Linked DNA regions of Homo sapiens: region 2 is linked to region 1. Evidence: promoter capture Hi-C in 16 types of primary human blood cells and fetal thymus (Javierre and others, 2016). All regions are on one chromosome and are shown on one strand. The core of a region is centred on a gene start or on the middle of the fragment in contact, and the rest is flanking DNA. Distances in the headings are between cores, read along the strand shown. Region 1 holds the start of RFPL4B (ret finger protein like 4B). Region 2 overlaps HDAC2 (histone deacetylase 2).

The links. Contacts are between HindIII fragments. The CHiCAGO score rates a contact against its expected background, and 5 or more counts as called.
Region 2: a fragment that was not itself captured here is called in contact with the fragment with the promoter of RFPL4B in region 1 in 1 of 17 cell types (endothelial precursors); the score reaches 7.1 in endothelial precursors.

What each region holds. Positions count from the first base shown.
Region 1 is chr6:112,344,979-112,352,293 of GRCh38, forward strand. RFPL4B (ret finger protein like 4B) reads left to right here and starts at 2,352. Exons shown (of 3, transcript NM_001013734.3): 1 at 2,352-2,429; 2 at 4,215-4,343; 3 at 4,626-6,316. The coding sequence starts at 4,731. The coding sequence ends at 5,522. The HindIII fragment of the contact is 3,879 bases long and covers 1-3,845 here.
Region 2 is chr6:113,934,896-113,941,726 of GRCh38, forward strand. It overlaps HDAC2 (histone deacetylase 2), which reads right to left. Exons shown (of 14, transcript NM_001527.4): 13 at 6,813-6,831; 14 at 1-6,193. The coding sequence ends at 6,163. Among named protein-coding and RNA genes, the nearest start is that of HDAC2-AS2, 31 kb to the right of the region's middle. The HindIII fragment of the contact is 4,520 bases long and covers 2,485-6,831 here.

The DNA of each region.
Region 1 (7,315 bases), core at 1,102-3,601:
CAAATGATATCACCTTACACCTGTAAGAATAATTTTTTCTTTCTTTCTTTTTTTTTTGAGACGGAGTCTTGCTCTGTCTCCCAGGCTGGAGTGCAGTGGTGCGACCTCGGCTCACTGCAATCTCCGCCTCCTAGGTTCAAGCAATTCTATGCCTCAGCCTCACAAGTAGCTGGAATTACAGGTGCCCGCCACCACGCCTTGCTAATTTTTTTATTTTTAGTAGAAACGGGGTTTTAGCATCTTGGCCAGGCTTGTCTTGAACTCCTAACCTCGCGATTCACCCGCCTTGGCCTCCCAAAGTGCTGGGATTACAGGCATGAGAAAAAAGTAAATAAATAAAAAAGAGAAGAGATAACAAATGCTGGCAAAGATATGAAGAAAAGAGAAACCTCGTACACCATTGGTGGGAATGTAAATTAGCACAGCTATTATGAAAACTAGTATGGGGGTTCTTCAAAGAACTAAAAATAGAGCTACTATGTGATCTAGCAATTCTACTTCTGAATATATATCCAAAGAAAATAAAATCAGTACATTGAAGAGATATCTGCTCTCCTATGTTCATAACAGCATTATTCACAGTAGCCAAGATAGAGAATCAACTTATATTCATCAACTGATGAATGCATAAAGAATCAGGATATTCCTCAATAGATGAATACATAAAGAAAACATGGTACATGTACATGATGGAATACTATCGAGTCTTAAGAAATTCTATCATTTTCAACAACATGGAACCTGGAGGACATTATGTTGAGTGAAATAAGCTGGTACCGAAAGGCAAATGCTGCATGATTTCACCTATACGTGGAATGGAAAAAAGTAAAAAAAAATGAACTCATGGAAGCATGGAGTAGAATGGTGGCTACCAGGCACTGGGATGAAAAGAAGACTGAAATGGGGAGATATTGGTTAAAAGGTACAAAATTTTCAGGTAGATAGAAGGAATACTCTTTGGAGATCCATTGTACATCATGGTGGATATAACTAATGATAATGTATAGCACACCTAAAAATTGCTAAGATAGTAGATTTTGAACATTTTCATGACAAAATGATAAGTATGTGAAGTGACAGATATGTTAATTGGCTTGATTTAATCAGTTCACAGTGTATACATACATCAGACAATTAAAAAACAAATAGTAAATCTGGGTAAAGAATATATCTCTTTTTACTATTCCTACAAATTTTCTGTGTCTAAAATTATTTCAAAATAAAATGAAAGAAAAAATAAAATGACATTTTTGAATAATTAAAAAAGAGAGTGTAAGGATTCTTGAGATTAAAATCTCAAGTTTAAAGGGTCTTGAGATTACAATTTAAAAAGTTTGAGCTCCTAAACTTATGTGATCTGCCCACCTTGGCCTCCTGTAATCCCAGCTACTAGGGAGGCTGAGGCACAAGAATCACTTGAACCTGGGAGGTGGAGGTTGCAATGAGCCGAGACTGAGCCACTGCACTCCAACCTGGGAGACAGAGCAAGATTGTGTCAAAAATCAAAACAAAAAAAAACCCCAGCAACGCTTGAGACCTGCTCCTGCAAGTATTTAACTCACAGAAAAGGAGATAGCACCAGGTAAAAATGAAGTAAAAGCTGTGTAAGCTGTGTGTTGGGCCTTGCAGAACAGGAAGCCTGAGAAAGGAGAGGTTATTTAGAATGCAGCCTCTCTTGGGGAAAACGTATATTCCAGCGATCCTCTCTACAATGGGACTTCATTCACCCTCCAAATCCTTTTTTGGAAGTTTGTGTCTTAGCTTTCCTCTGTTGTGACTTTTACTGCTCCTTCTGCTCTCGATACAGACACCATAAAATTTACCGTTCATCCAAGAACACTTTTGAGAGTAAAAAATGGAATTATTAATAATTACAGGACAATAGCCTTGCCTAGCTGCCATCTTTCTTATCCTGTCCAGTAAGTACCCCTAAGAGTAGAATTGTTGAGTCAAAGGACATGAAAACTGTTGTAGATCCTGTCCGCTCATGATTCTATCAGGAATAGGAACACCAATGATTACATTAGCCACGAGGTGATTAGGTTTCAGCAGTGCATTTCTGTATTTGATCTCCAACACATTTTGCTTTTTAAAGTTGAGTTCTGAAATTAGAGACAAGAGCAGATGGCAGTAGATTCACTCTAATTCAGGGAGTTATTAAGAAATTTTGAATTTTTTTACTATATAATTTGAAGCCTGCTTTAATGTCATCATCATAAACGGAAGGGTGGGTTGATGAGTTTACTCAGATTAGAGTGGTACAACCTTTGGGGCGGAGCCTCTGACTCTGATTGGTTGGACAATGTTTTCCAGGCAGTATAAAAACGCTGGTGTCTCTCCGCGGAAACTCCGAGAGGAGCAGAGGTCTGTAGAGGTAGAGACGTAGGCTTCGGATCTTTTAGAATTCTGCTGGAAGTCTCCAAGTCAAGGTAAGTTATACCTTCTGTTTAAGCTATTTCCAATGTCCTATTCTGTCTTTGGCTACAAACTGGTGTTTTCGAATGCCTTTAACTATTTATTTTAGAGGAGAAAGAACTAGTTTTTTCCTGTGCCAGGGAGCTTTCTTCACCTTTAACTATAACTTTGCCATTTAAATTTTTACATATGAACCTCAGGTCACTCTTTGCATGAACTTGTATTTTTATGTGTTTTCAACTACAATGGATTTAAATGGTTTTAAAATGGTTTCTTTTTATTTTCCAACATTTCTTAAAAGATTTCTGGGTTTTCGGCCGGGCGCCATGGTTCGCGCCTGCGCTTTGGGAGGCTGAGGTGGGTGGATCACGAGGTCAAGAGACCAGCCTGTCCAACATGGTGAAACCCCGTCTCTACTAAAAATACAAAACTTAGCCGGACGTGGTGGCACATGCTTGTAATCCCAGCTACTCAGGAGACCGAGGCAGGAGAATTGCTTGAACCCGGGAGGCAGAGGTTGCAGTGAGCCGAGATGGAGCCACTGCACCCCCAGCCTGGGCGACAGAGCAAGACTCCGTCTCAAAAAAAAAAAAAGACTTCACTTCGGGTTTTCACTTAAATATACTTGGCCACTTTTAGTAGTTGTGTCATAATTAGCTGAATCATTTTATTATTGTTAGATAATTCGATTGTTCCTGATCATTTGGGATGGTAGTTAACACTGAAATGAACAACTTGTGAATAAGTGTAGCATTTTTTTTCTTTTGTAAAATTGTTTTCTTAGATACATTCCAAGGTGGGTTAGGCAATTAGATTTCCAGCACCATGTTAAATTTCCCATTAAATTGAAAAAGATAACAGAATTTAAGAAAGAGGTAATCTCTGGTTGTCCGCCAGCCAGGCACCATGAGATTGGAATGCTGATCAGGACTTGGAAGACAAAGTTTTATGTGGGCAGATACCCTGTTTATTACACACGTTTGTGTTTCCAGAGTCCAGTTGAGGCCAAGAGCACAGAAGGGGCTCAATAAGTATTTGTTGGAAAGAGATTAGAGAATGTGTTCTGGGATGTAGGACAGTTCTAGTAACTCAGTCTTAGGCTGGCCTCATCGGTGTTCATCACTTCCTCTCTCTGGTAATGTTGATGCTGCTCCTCTTTCTGTCCCTCATTCTGTTACTACTGTCACCACTGAATGTGTGATTTGTGGGTTCTTGGTAAGGAGTTCTGCTAGTTACTGCTCAGTGCAGGCTCTTATTGGAGAACAGTCCTCTGTTCACATAATCTCAAAGGTGCTGTCCAGCTTTGCGAGGCTGTCTTTGGGTCATGGGTCTAGCCTGGTCCAATATGCTGTGCCCAGCATGTCAGAGACAGCTCACTCAAAGAATAATAGCCATGGTGGGAAGTCCTCTGGGAGCACCAGAGGCTCTCAAGCTTTGGGAGCAGTTGGGGTAACAGGAGGGCATCTTCCTTGTCTGGAACATCTTTTTGGTTTGTATTCAGGCATGATTATTTTGGAGAAGTTGATGACTATTATATTTTTATTCACATTAATTCAAGCCTTAATTAGTTTTCTTAGAGTGCTTTAAAGCATTTCATCTAATAACACTTTGTCCTTAAACTTGATTCTTTTATGGGCTTCTCATTTTGCAGTGGATTTTGCTGGCTTTACTCACATGTGGTAATTTTCCTGGAAATTCTGAGGATTCCTTAGAGTCACTTTTCTGTGATGATTAATGTAGAATTGGCTTTATTTTCATTATTGAATTTAGACATGAACATTCTTTTTCCTGAACTGCAGAGGATCTACAAAGAAATACTGAGTGGAGACTATACTGAGATTCTGTTAAAGACCCACTTGAATTCAGCCCCCATTAGGAGAAACTTTGGCCGGAGCAGCCAACACATCACCTGGAAGTCTTCAGACTAGGTAAGCTGCACTGTCTGAAAAGAAAGTTTCCACTGTCCTATTTCTGTCTTGTGATTATCTAGAGTTTGAAGAGTTTCGAAATCATTTTTATCACCATGACTACATTACTGTGATTCTCTAGCAATTTAGTGTCACTTTCATACACAAACTGCAGAAATATTATTTTTTTGTTATTCTTAATTTCTTAGTTAATAAATTTATTATTATTTATTAAATAATATAATTCATTTATGTATGCCAATAACTTATTTATTAATTTATATTATTTAATCTTGGATTTAGACTATTGAAGAGTGGATTGTGTACTGAGGGCTCCCAAGTGCTTCCAGAAGCCAATAAAGGATCACTTCAGTTTACTTCACGGCTAAGGAGTAACCCTTAAGAACCATGGCCAAACGCCTGCAAGCAGAGTTGTCCTGTCCAGTTTGCCTGGATTTTTTCTCCTGTTCCATTTCTCTCTCTTGTACACACGTGTTCTGCTTTGATTGCATCCAGAGGTATATACTAGAAAACCATGATTTTAGAGCGATGTGCCCCTTGTGTCGAGACGTGGTGAAGGTACCTGCTTTGGAAGAATGGCAAGTGAGCGTCCTAACACTTATGACCAAGCAGCACAATAGCCGACTTGAGCAAAGTCTGCACGTGAGGGAGGAGCTCCGGCATTTTCGGGAGGATGTGACCCTGGATGCAGCCACTGCCAGCTCCCTCCTTGTCTTCTCCAATGATCTAAGAAGCGCTCAGTGTAAGAAGATCCACCACGATCTGACAAAAGATCCCAGGCTGGCCTGTGTCCTGGGTACTCCCTGCTTCTCCTCCGGCCAACATTACTGGGAGGTTGAAGTGGGAGAGGTGAAGTCATGGTCCCTGGGCGTCTGCAAGGAGCCGGCTGACAGAAAGAGCAATGATTTATTCCCTGAGCATGGCTTCTGGATCAGCATGAAGGCAGGAGCAATCCATGCTAACACCCACCTGGAGAGAATTCCTGCAAGCCCTCGCCTTCGCCGTGTGGGAATTTTCCTGGATGCTGACTTAGAAGAAATCCAGTTTTTTGATGTTGACAATAATGTCCTCATCTATACACATGATGGTTTCTTCTCTTTGGAGCTTTTGTGTCCATTCTTCTGTCTTGAGCTCTTGGGAGAAGGGGAGAGTGGCAACGTCCTGACCATCTGCCCATGAGAAAGTCAGCCCTTCCTAGAAGCTTTCTGAGAGGTGAAAGAGAATTTTGGCCTGAGAAAGGTCAGCATGATTGAGGAAGAGATAATGTGCTATAGTGCAAAGACTTGGTAAATTTTTAAAGTAGATTTTGTAGACTTTGTAGCAAAACAATTTTCGGATTTTTGGGGTAAATTTTGTGGAATTTGTAGCTAGGTAACTGGGGTCTTTAGGGATGTTATTAAGTACTGTAAGCTTCAGTTTTCTAGTCTGTAGATGCGGATAATTGTATCTCAGTCAAACAGCTGTGGTAATTAGAGACAATACTATGCCTTTGTCTTATAGTAAATAACAAATAGAGAAATCTTAGATTGTAAGTAAGCTAGATATTAGGTTTTGTGGATAGACAATATCTTTTTCATTATTTCAAGCTGTTTTGTGTAATTCCTGATAATGTCTGAGGAGGAAGAAAAATTCAACAGCCAGTGTGAGTTATTTTGTTGATACAGCATGAAATTTCAGAGAGACAAACTGATATTGGGGAAGAACTAAGTTTTTCATTTTTATTTTCTTTGAAACACAGCCACATAAGTTTTCTTGAAAGACAAAGAACTTTGACCAAAATGCATTGTTAATGGTGATTCATATTCTTATGGGAAGTGTCATTTACCCATCTCAATAATTGGACTATTGTGATTTATAAGAATTCTTATCAACCATGTTAACTAACACATATTCATCAAAAATTGTTTTCAAGGTTGCTTTTGGATTTTTTATTTGTAGAATTTATTTTCTTGCAAATAAATTTATAAAGCATTGGATGTGTTCATGTTTATGCTGTTTGGTCCGTCTCTCACATACAGTCTGAAGTTGGTACCCCTCTTCCTCCACCACAGCTACATGGTCCCAGACTGTGATTTCCAATATGTCATCCTTATACACTCATGATGGCTCCTTTTCAAAATATTCAGGTCTCTTAGGGTTGTATTTTTTCTGATTTACTGAGTCAGCCACTTCTGAGATTACAACTGCCCCAAAAGGGCTGGGGTCTGAGCATGTTCTGGAATCTGCCTTTGACTTCCTTTCTAGAGAGACCCAGAATTGTCATTTCCCTTCTCTTTCCAACTTCACTGGGAGTAGGGAGATAGCCATTTTCCTCTCTTTATTCTCTTTTGATCTCTACAACTTTATTTCAGGGGACTCATTGCCCTTCCCTAACACTGGGCAAAATTTCAGGATACAAAATAAATGTACAAAAATCACTAGCATTCTTATATGCCAACAGGAGTCAAGCTGACAGCCAAATCAGGAATGAACTCCCATTCACAATTGCCACAAAAAGAATAAAATACCTAGGAATGTAGCTAACTAAGGGAGGTGAAAGATCTCTACAAGAACTATAAACCACTGTTCAAAGAAATCAGAGATGACACAAACAAATGGAGAAACATTCCATGGTCATTAAAAGGAAGAATCGATATTGTTAAAATGGCCATACTGTCCAAAGCAATTTATAGATTCAATGCTATTCCTATTAAACTACCATTGAGACTCCTCACAGGACTAGACAAAACTATTTTGAAATTCATATGGAACCAAAAAAGAACCTGAATAGCCAAGGCTATTTTTTAGCCAAAGCTAAGCAAAAGGAACAAAGCTGGAGACATCACAAGGCTACAGTAGTATAGTTTGTATCAATACCAAAACAGCATGGTATTGGTACAAAAACAGACATATAGACCAATGGAACAGATTAGAAAACCCAGAAACAAGACCACATACCCACAACTATTTGATCTTTGACAAACCTGACAAAA
Region 2 (6,831 bases), core at 3,495-5,994, 1.6 Mb after region 1:
ACTTGAATTATATTTTTTCCTGGAAAATGGTATCTAGAGTAAATTTTTCGCACCTACTTGCCCAAACTTTCTTATCAGATGCTGAGTTGAAAAGAACATACCTAGATTCTACGGAAATTAGAAATCTAGCCTTTTTAAGAATATAACTTTGGAAATACTGGTGAATGGTAGATCTCCCATCCTCATGCTTGGAGGGCTATTATCTACCACAGGGCCACACAACAGTGCCCTCTTAAGCCCCTTAATTTCACCTAGTCTAGCCAAAGGCAACACAAGTTCAAACTTTCCGGCTAGACTTCAGAATAAGAAAATTTTTGAAGTGCATTTCTCACTTAAGGACATAGCATATTTAAAAAATAAGAGCAAAAGGGGAAATTCTTGTCTTTTTAAATCAAACATTATTTGTTGCCAGAAGTGTAATGACTTTTTGTTGGTATTTGTTAAGTACAGCCAGTTTTGATAATGTGCTCTCTTTTACTTTAGGAATTGCCTGTCCGTACTTTCCTTTAAAAGTTTTACCTGTACATCATCCTAGTAAGTATATGGCAAGGGCAGGGAAGTGACCCTGGATGTTTATTTCTGAAGAAACAAAAAAGATGACTAGTAGAGGATACAAGAGAAGCTGGAAGCTACTGATTTATCAATAGAATAAAAAATCCACAACACAAAAACAGATTAGAGTCTTCTTTGTTCAACTCACTCCTAAATACAAACCACTGGCTGCAAAATGGGTCTGGCCAAAAAAAATCTCCTATTCAGAATCCTGCTACTCATTTTACCTTAGAAATAATTATACATTTCTTTAACATTTAGAGTAAAAACAATCTTAATAAAAAGAGCAAATAACAGAATCTAATCAAGGTGTCTTCTGTCCTTAACTGTTTGTTCTACTAAAAAAGAATTTTTCATTAATAATCCTAATCATAACTCTGCAGTGTTCAAAGACCAAAGGGGTTAGGTACTTAGTTCAGTAAACAAAAGTCGTGGAACAAGCACCCAATGCCCCTGAATATTAACTTCACTATAACTATAATTCCTAGAAATAAATTTCAATTCTTTCCCATTCTGTATACTAACTGATTCTTACCACCAGTCAAAACAGAAAATTATTCTGGCTCTAATATTCAGTTCCATTTTGTCTGACTAGCAAAGTCACAATTAGTCAATGACTACCAGATACACTCTACTGTGTTTTGCAGATGTAAAACTTAGAAATTAGTGTTATAATTCTTATAGGAAAACCTAAATCAGTAAACTTAATTGTAGTTTAATTCAAAGTTTTTAATCCAATATTGCATTCAAAAAGAATCTGTTAATACATGTTGCTCTGCTTGTTACATGGCCACCAAGTGACTATAAGAGAAAACACACAGAAAAAAAAATTTTAAATGCAGTATCTGCCATCTTGTGGTACAGTGAGGAAATGCAGCAATTGAGAAGCTTCTAAATGCTGTAATCCTAAACATTTCTCCGCATTGCTCATGTAAATAGCCAATAATAACAATATGATAGTTCTATTTTTTCTGTAATCTACTTAATGCCATTTTTCTTGAGATTATCCTTGAGTAAATTACAGAGGCATCAAGATCCCCCCAAAGTTGTCAAATATTATTCGTATCCTTGCTAAAATCAGGTCTCCAAAAGATTGCTTCTCTATCCACTATGACCTAGTAGTCTTCACACTAGTAGGCATCAAACTGCAATAAAAGGCTCAGATACAACCCATCTGGCATCTAAAGGAACACTCAAAAATTTAACACTTCCCCTGGCACCACTCTCACCCATCTATCTACCTTTACCTCATAACAATAGCAAGCCAGGCGCGGTGGCTCATGCTTGTAATCCCAGCACTTTGGGAGGCCCAGGCGGGTGGATCATTTGAGGTAAGGAGTTCAAGACCAGCCTGGACAATATGGTGAGAACCCGTCTCTACTAAATATACAAAAATTAGCCAGGTGTGGTGGTGCACACCTGTACTCCCAGCTGCTTGGGAGGCTGAAGCATGAGAATCACCTGAACCTAGGAAGCAGAGGATGCAGTGAGCCAAGATCATGCCACTGCACTCCAACCTGGGCAACAGAGTGAGACTCTTTCAAAAAAAAAAGAAAAAAAAATAGCAGCTAACCCTTACTGAGCATTAACTATGTTATTAACTCAATCCTCACAACAAACCTATTAAGTAGGGACTATTATTTTCCTCATTTTAAATGATGAAGCAACTGAGGCACAGAGGTTAGTAATTTTCCTAAGATTATGGTGGAGATCCTAAGCTATTGAAATGATTACTACTTGTTTTCAAAAGCCCTTATCATTTATATCACAATATGAATAACAAATATTATGAATCGCAGTTATCAAAAAAACTTCAGCAGTATTACTACATCAAAACCATAAAAAACAGAAGATGTAGGTGACTAACTTCAATGTAAGAACTTCAAATAATTGCCCATTGACAGAATGCTAGCAGCTCTGGTAGAAGGGCAAAGCTTAGATATGATGTAACTAGCTTAGAGTACCAATGCTGACTTAGAACAGCATTCACCCATGCCATAGAGAACTGAGACAATGTGGCACCTTCATTAAATGAATTAAAGAGCTTTACTTGAGTTAATATCTTAGTTTACCAAACCTGACCTGAGTTTCCTCAAACACTTGACAATAGTTGCTTTCTAAGTCTGTAACATGATAGGTTTAGGCCGGGTACGGTGGCTCATGCCTGAGTCAGGAGAATCGCTTGAGCCTAGGAGTTTGTGACCAGCCTGGGCAACACAGGGAGACACCATCTCTCCAAAATAAAAATGTAAAAATCAGCTAGGTGTGATGGTGCACACTTGTAGTCCCAGCTACTTGGGAGGCTGAGGTGGGAGAATACCCTAAGCCTAGAAGTTCTAAGATGTAGTGAGATATGATCAGGCTACCACACTCCATCCTGGGTGACCGAGATCCTTTCTCTAAAAAAAAGAGATAAACAGCCAGGTGCGGCAGCTCACACCTGTAATCCCAGCACTTTGGAAGGCCAAGGTGGGTGGATCATGAGGTCAGGAGTTCGAGGCCAGCCTGGCCAACATAGTGAAACCCCGTCTCTACTAAAAATGCGAACAATTAGCTGGGCGTGGTGACAGGCGCCTGTAATCCCAGCTACTCAGGAGGCTGAGGCAGGAGAATGGCTTCAACCTGGGAGGCGGAGGTTGCAGTGAGCCGAGATTGCGCCATTGCACACCAGCCTGGGCAACAGCGAGACTCCGTCTCAAAAAAAGAAAAAATAAATAAACATAATAGGTTTAAAAAACTAAGTTAAAAAATAAGTCTCTCTATAGCTTTTTATTTACTGAGGTTAAAGATCTTTTCATATTTACAAACTATTTATATGTATTTGTTTCCCAGTTCACATCCTTATACATTTTGTTCCTCTACTATCTTTAGATATGAGCCTTTTGACCTGGATGAGTTACAAATCTGCCTCCCACTCTGTCTTTTGTCATTTTTCTTGACTTGTCTTCTAAGTTTTTGTTGGTCCACTGAACTAATTTTTTTTTTGTTATCAAATATATCTTTTATAGTTGAGTTTGGTGTCACACTTAGGCCTTCTTCAATCCATTTGCTTTAAGAGTTTAGGTTTTTGGTAGTTTTATCTTTTCCTATTTAAATCTTCTAGTGGAGGGCAGAAAACTGGGTTTTCCATTTGGTTACCAGTTGTTGTCCCAATTCCACTTACAAAATAATGTCTTTCCTTGCCAATTTCAAATATCATTTTTATCCTATATGAATTTTTTAAAGTATTAGGGTATTCTGACATCTTACTATGTTACATTGACCTTACTAGACACAAGAACCATAGCTTCTTTACATATTATTTCTAAAAATTTTGTTATTACAAATGGGGGTCTTTGTTCTTCCAACAGACTTGGTCACTAAGTGTTACTGATTTCTGTTTATTAATGCTGTACCAAATCACCTTGCTGAAATTGCTTTAGATAGTTCTCTTGAGGTTTTAGTTGTATATAACCAACTACTTAGAAAAACAAAACCTCTTAAATACACCCAAGGAGATCCAGTATAGTATTGAAGTGTACAATTTCAGTATGTTCACACAATGGAACATAATACATAGCAGTCAAAATGAACTATACTTAACATGTGTCAACAGGGGTAGATCAGAATATTAAATGAAAAAAAGCAAAGGGCCTTTGTCTCCTGGCACCCGGATACTGAGCTCAGTTTCCGTCTTCACTGTTCCATCTCCTCCATCCACTACTCCAGGATCTCATAGGTGACTCTACCACAGCCCCTGTTGTCCTGTGAGCTGCAGGCACTGGGAAATCCACAGGGAGGATGCCAGAACATCTGGAGCCTGCGAAATGGTATTTTCTTATTTAAAACAGGATCATCATGGTAGACGGGAGGCATGGTGGGAGGGGGGCGAGGGATAAAAGATTACAAATAGGGTGCAGTGTACACTGCTTGGGTGATGGGTCCACCAAAATCCCACAAATCACCACTAAAGAACTTAATCATGTAACCAAACACCACCTGTTCCCCAATAAGCTATGGAAAAATAAAAATAAAAAAAGCAAAGTTACAGAATTGTCCAAATACATACCATCTATGTTTCACAAACACTAAATACATTTCATTATCCCCCTAACGAAGGGACTAAGTTTCTTAGTTCCTAATGTCATAAAGGTTTACAGATTGATAACAAATATGTAGCAAAAGTACAAAAACATGGGTAAAATATTCACAAAAACATGGATAAAATAATCACAATGGTGATTACTTCTTAAGGCTGGGAGGGAGGGAGGATTACAAACGACAAAGTACACAAAGAGAGCTTCAATTTCGGTGTATTTTAAGAAAAAAACACCGAAGCAAATATAGCAAAAGTAAAATATTTGTTAAGTCGGGGTGGGTGCACAGCTGTTCATTACAAAAGTCTAGGTGCTATTGTGAATGTCTGAAACATTTAAGAGGCTTGTAGAGAAATATTTTTTCTTTTAATATTTTACTGCACTGAAGAGAAATACTTTTGACTGAATTATCTTCTGGCATTCTGTAATTTTTAATCTCAAAAGAATCAATGTGGGCCTGACAAAAAGGGAGATTTCACTGATTTTGGCAAGTTCCTAAAATGTTTTGTCTTCTTTGCACATCTTAGTAGCAGGAGTTACCCCCATTTGTCTGCTTCCTGCTACTAGAATGTAAGCTCTGAGTGTAAGCTCTGAGTGAAAGCATTTTTCCATTATATTCAGTTACACTCCTACAGTCTTAAAATGGGCAGACACACAATAAGTAGTTGCTGAATGATAAATCAGTTGTGTTTATTTCCTTGAGTTAGAAACCTGGATGTCACGTAAATAATAATGGAACCTGGATGCCATGTAAATGCAGTAAAAGAAACAGGTTTTGTCTGCAGGTTCCATTTTAAACCAGCAATATACTATAGGCAAGTCTGGTCAATACAAGTTCTGGTCAGTTTCTTCTTTCAATTCAGAATTTCCATTTCAATTTTGAGAATCTTTGGGTCAACTCAAAGAACTCCTACATCTCAATTGCAGAGTCTGTATTATTTCATAAATTGTAATGGGATGTTAATCTTCACTGATACTAACTGGCTAAGCTATAGAGGGCAAGGTGGTAGAATTTCTATTGCAAAGATAAGTAATAATTACTATAAATACTCTTCCCAAAGAAACAGCAAATAGTTATCTTTCAAGCTGTAATCATTATCTTTCACCTAGAGTGTATTGTAAGTCTACAGAAATGATGTCATTAGCCACTGAAACAAGACTTCATATTGTAGTAATAAACAGACAAAAGATAATCCAAGTACAATTTTTTAATAAAGATAATTACAAAAGATGGAAAAATCAGCTCAGAAAGGCCAATTACTTCTTTAATAGATCAGTTTTTTTGACATAATAACTCACATCAATTTTAAATACTATCACATAAAGCATGGTGGAGAAAAGAAATTTTGCTTCATAATTAGAAAAACTCACAATAAAACTTGCCAAGAAAAACAAAAACGAAAAAGCCATTTGAAAATAAATACAGTCCATGCCAAAGTAGTATAAAATGAAGCCAGAAGTCTTCAAAAAGAAAACATTTTCCTTTCAATATTTTCTTTTTAATGATTTTCTGAAATTGGTGAGACTGTCAAATTCAGGGGTTGCTGAGCTGTTCTGATTTGGTTCTGTTAAAAGAGGCAATGTGAAATATTAAAAATGGCACAATCTTGGTTTAAATGCACTGACCTATTATATTGATCAGGTCCTGTAGGCTCATGCTAAGAAACACATTAATTGATAATGTCTTAAGTGTTTCTGGAGTAATTAATGCCTTAATTTTTCTAGTGATTTAATAAACTATTCCAAGTTATCCTGTAAAGGCTGGCACAAAATTATGTGTGCCCAAACATTTACATGCTTTCTGACACTAAAATCCTCAACTGTTTTTACTTAAAATTGTTTCTTAAATTTACCTATCTCACAACACTAAAAAAATCATGTACACAGAAATAAGAACACCATGAAAACCATTAAGTGCATATATAAAAGATAACAGCAAAAAAGGGTCTCAGATAAACTACGTACAAGAATACAAACTGACTGATATAGTTATACTGATAAACCAATAGGTAAGATGGCATATGTTGTCTTATGTACCAATACAAACTAAAATTCAGAGCACCTCATAATGATGTTCTAAGGTTCAGTCTAGTATTTCTGAAGTGTGTACACAAACACACACCAATAAACATGTTTAGTATTTTTATAGTATGTAAAAAGTACTTGATAAGGAACATCATTTACCCTTTGGTATCTGTTTTTT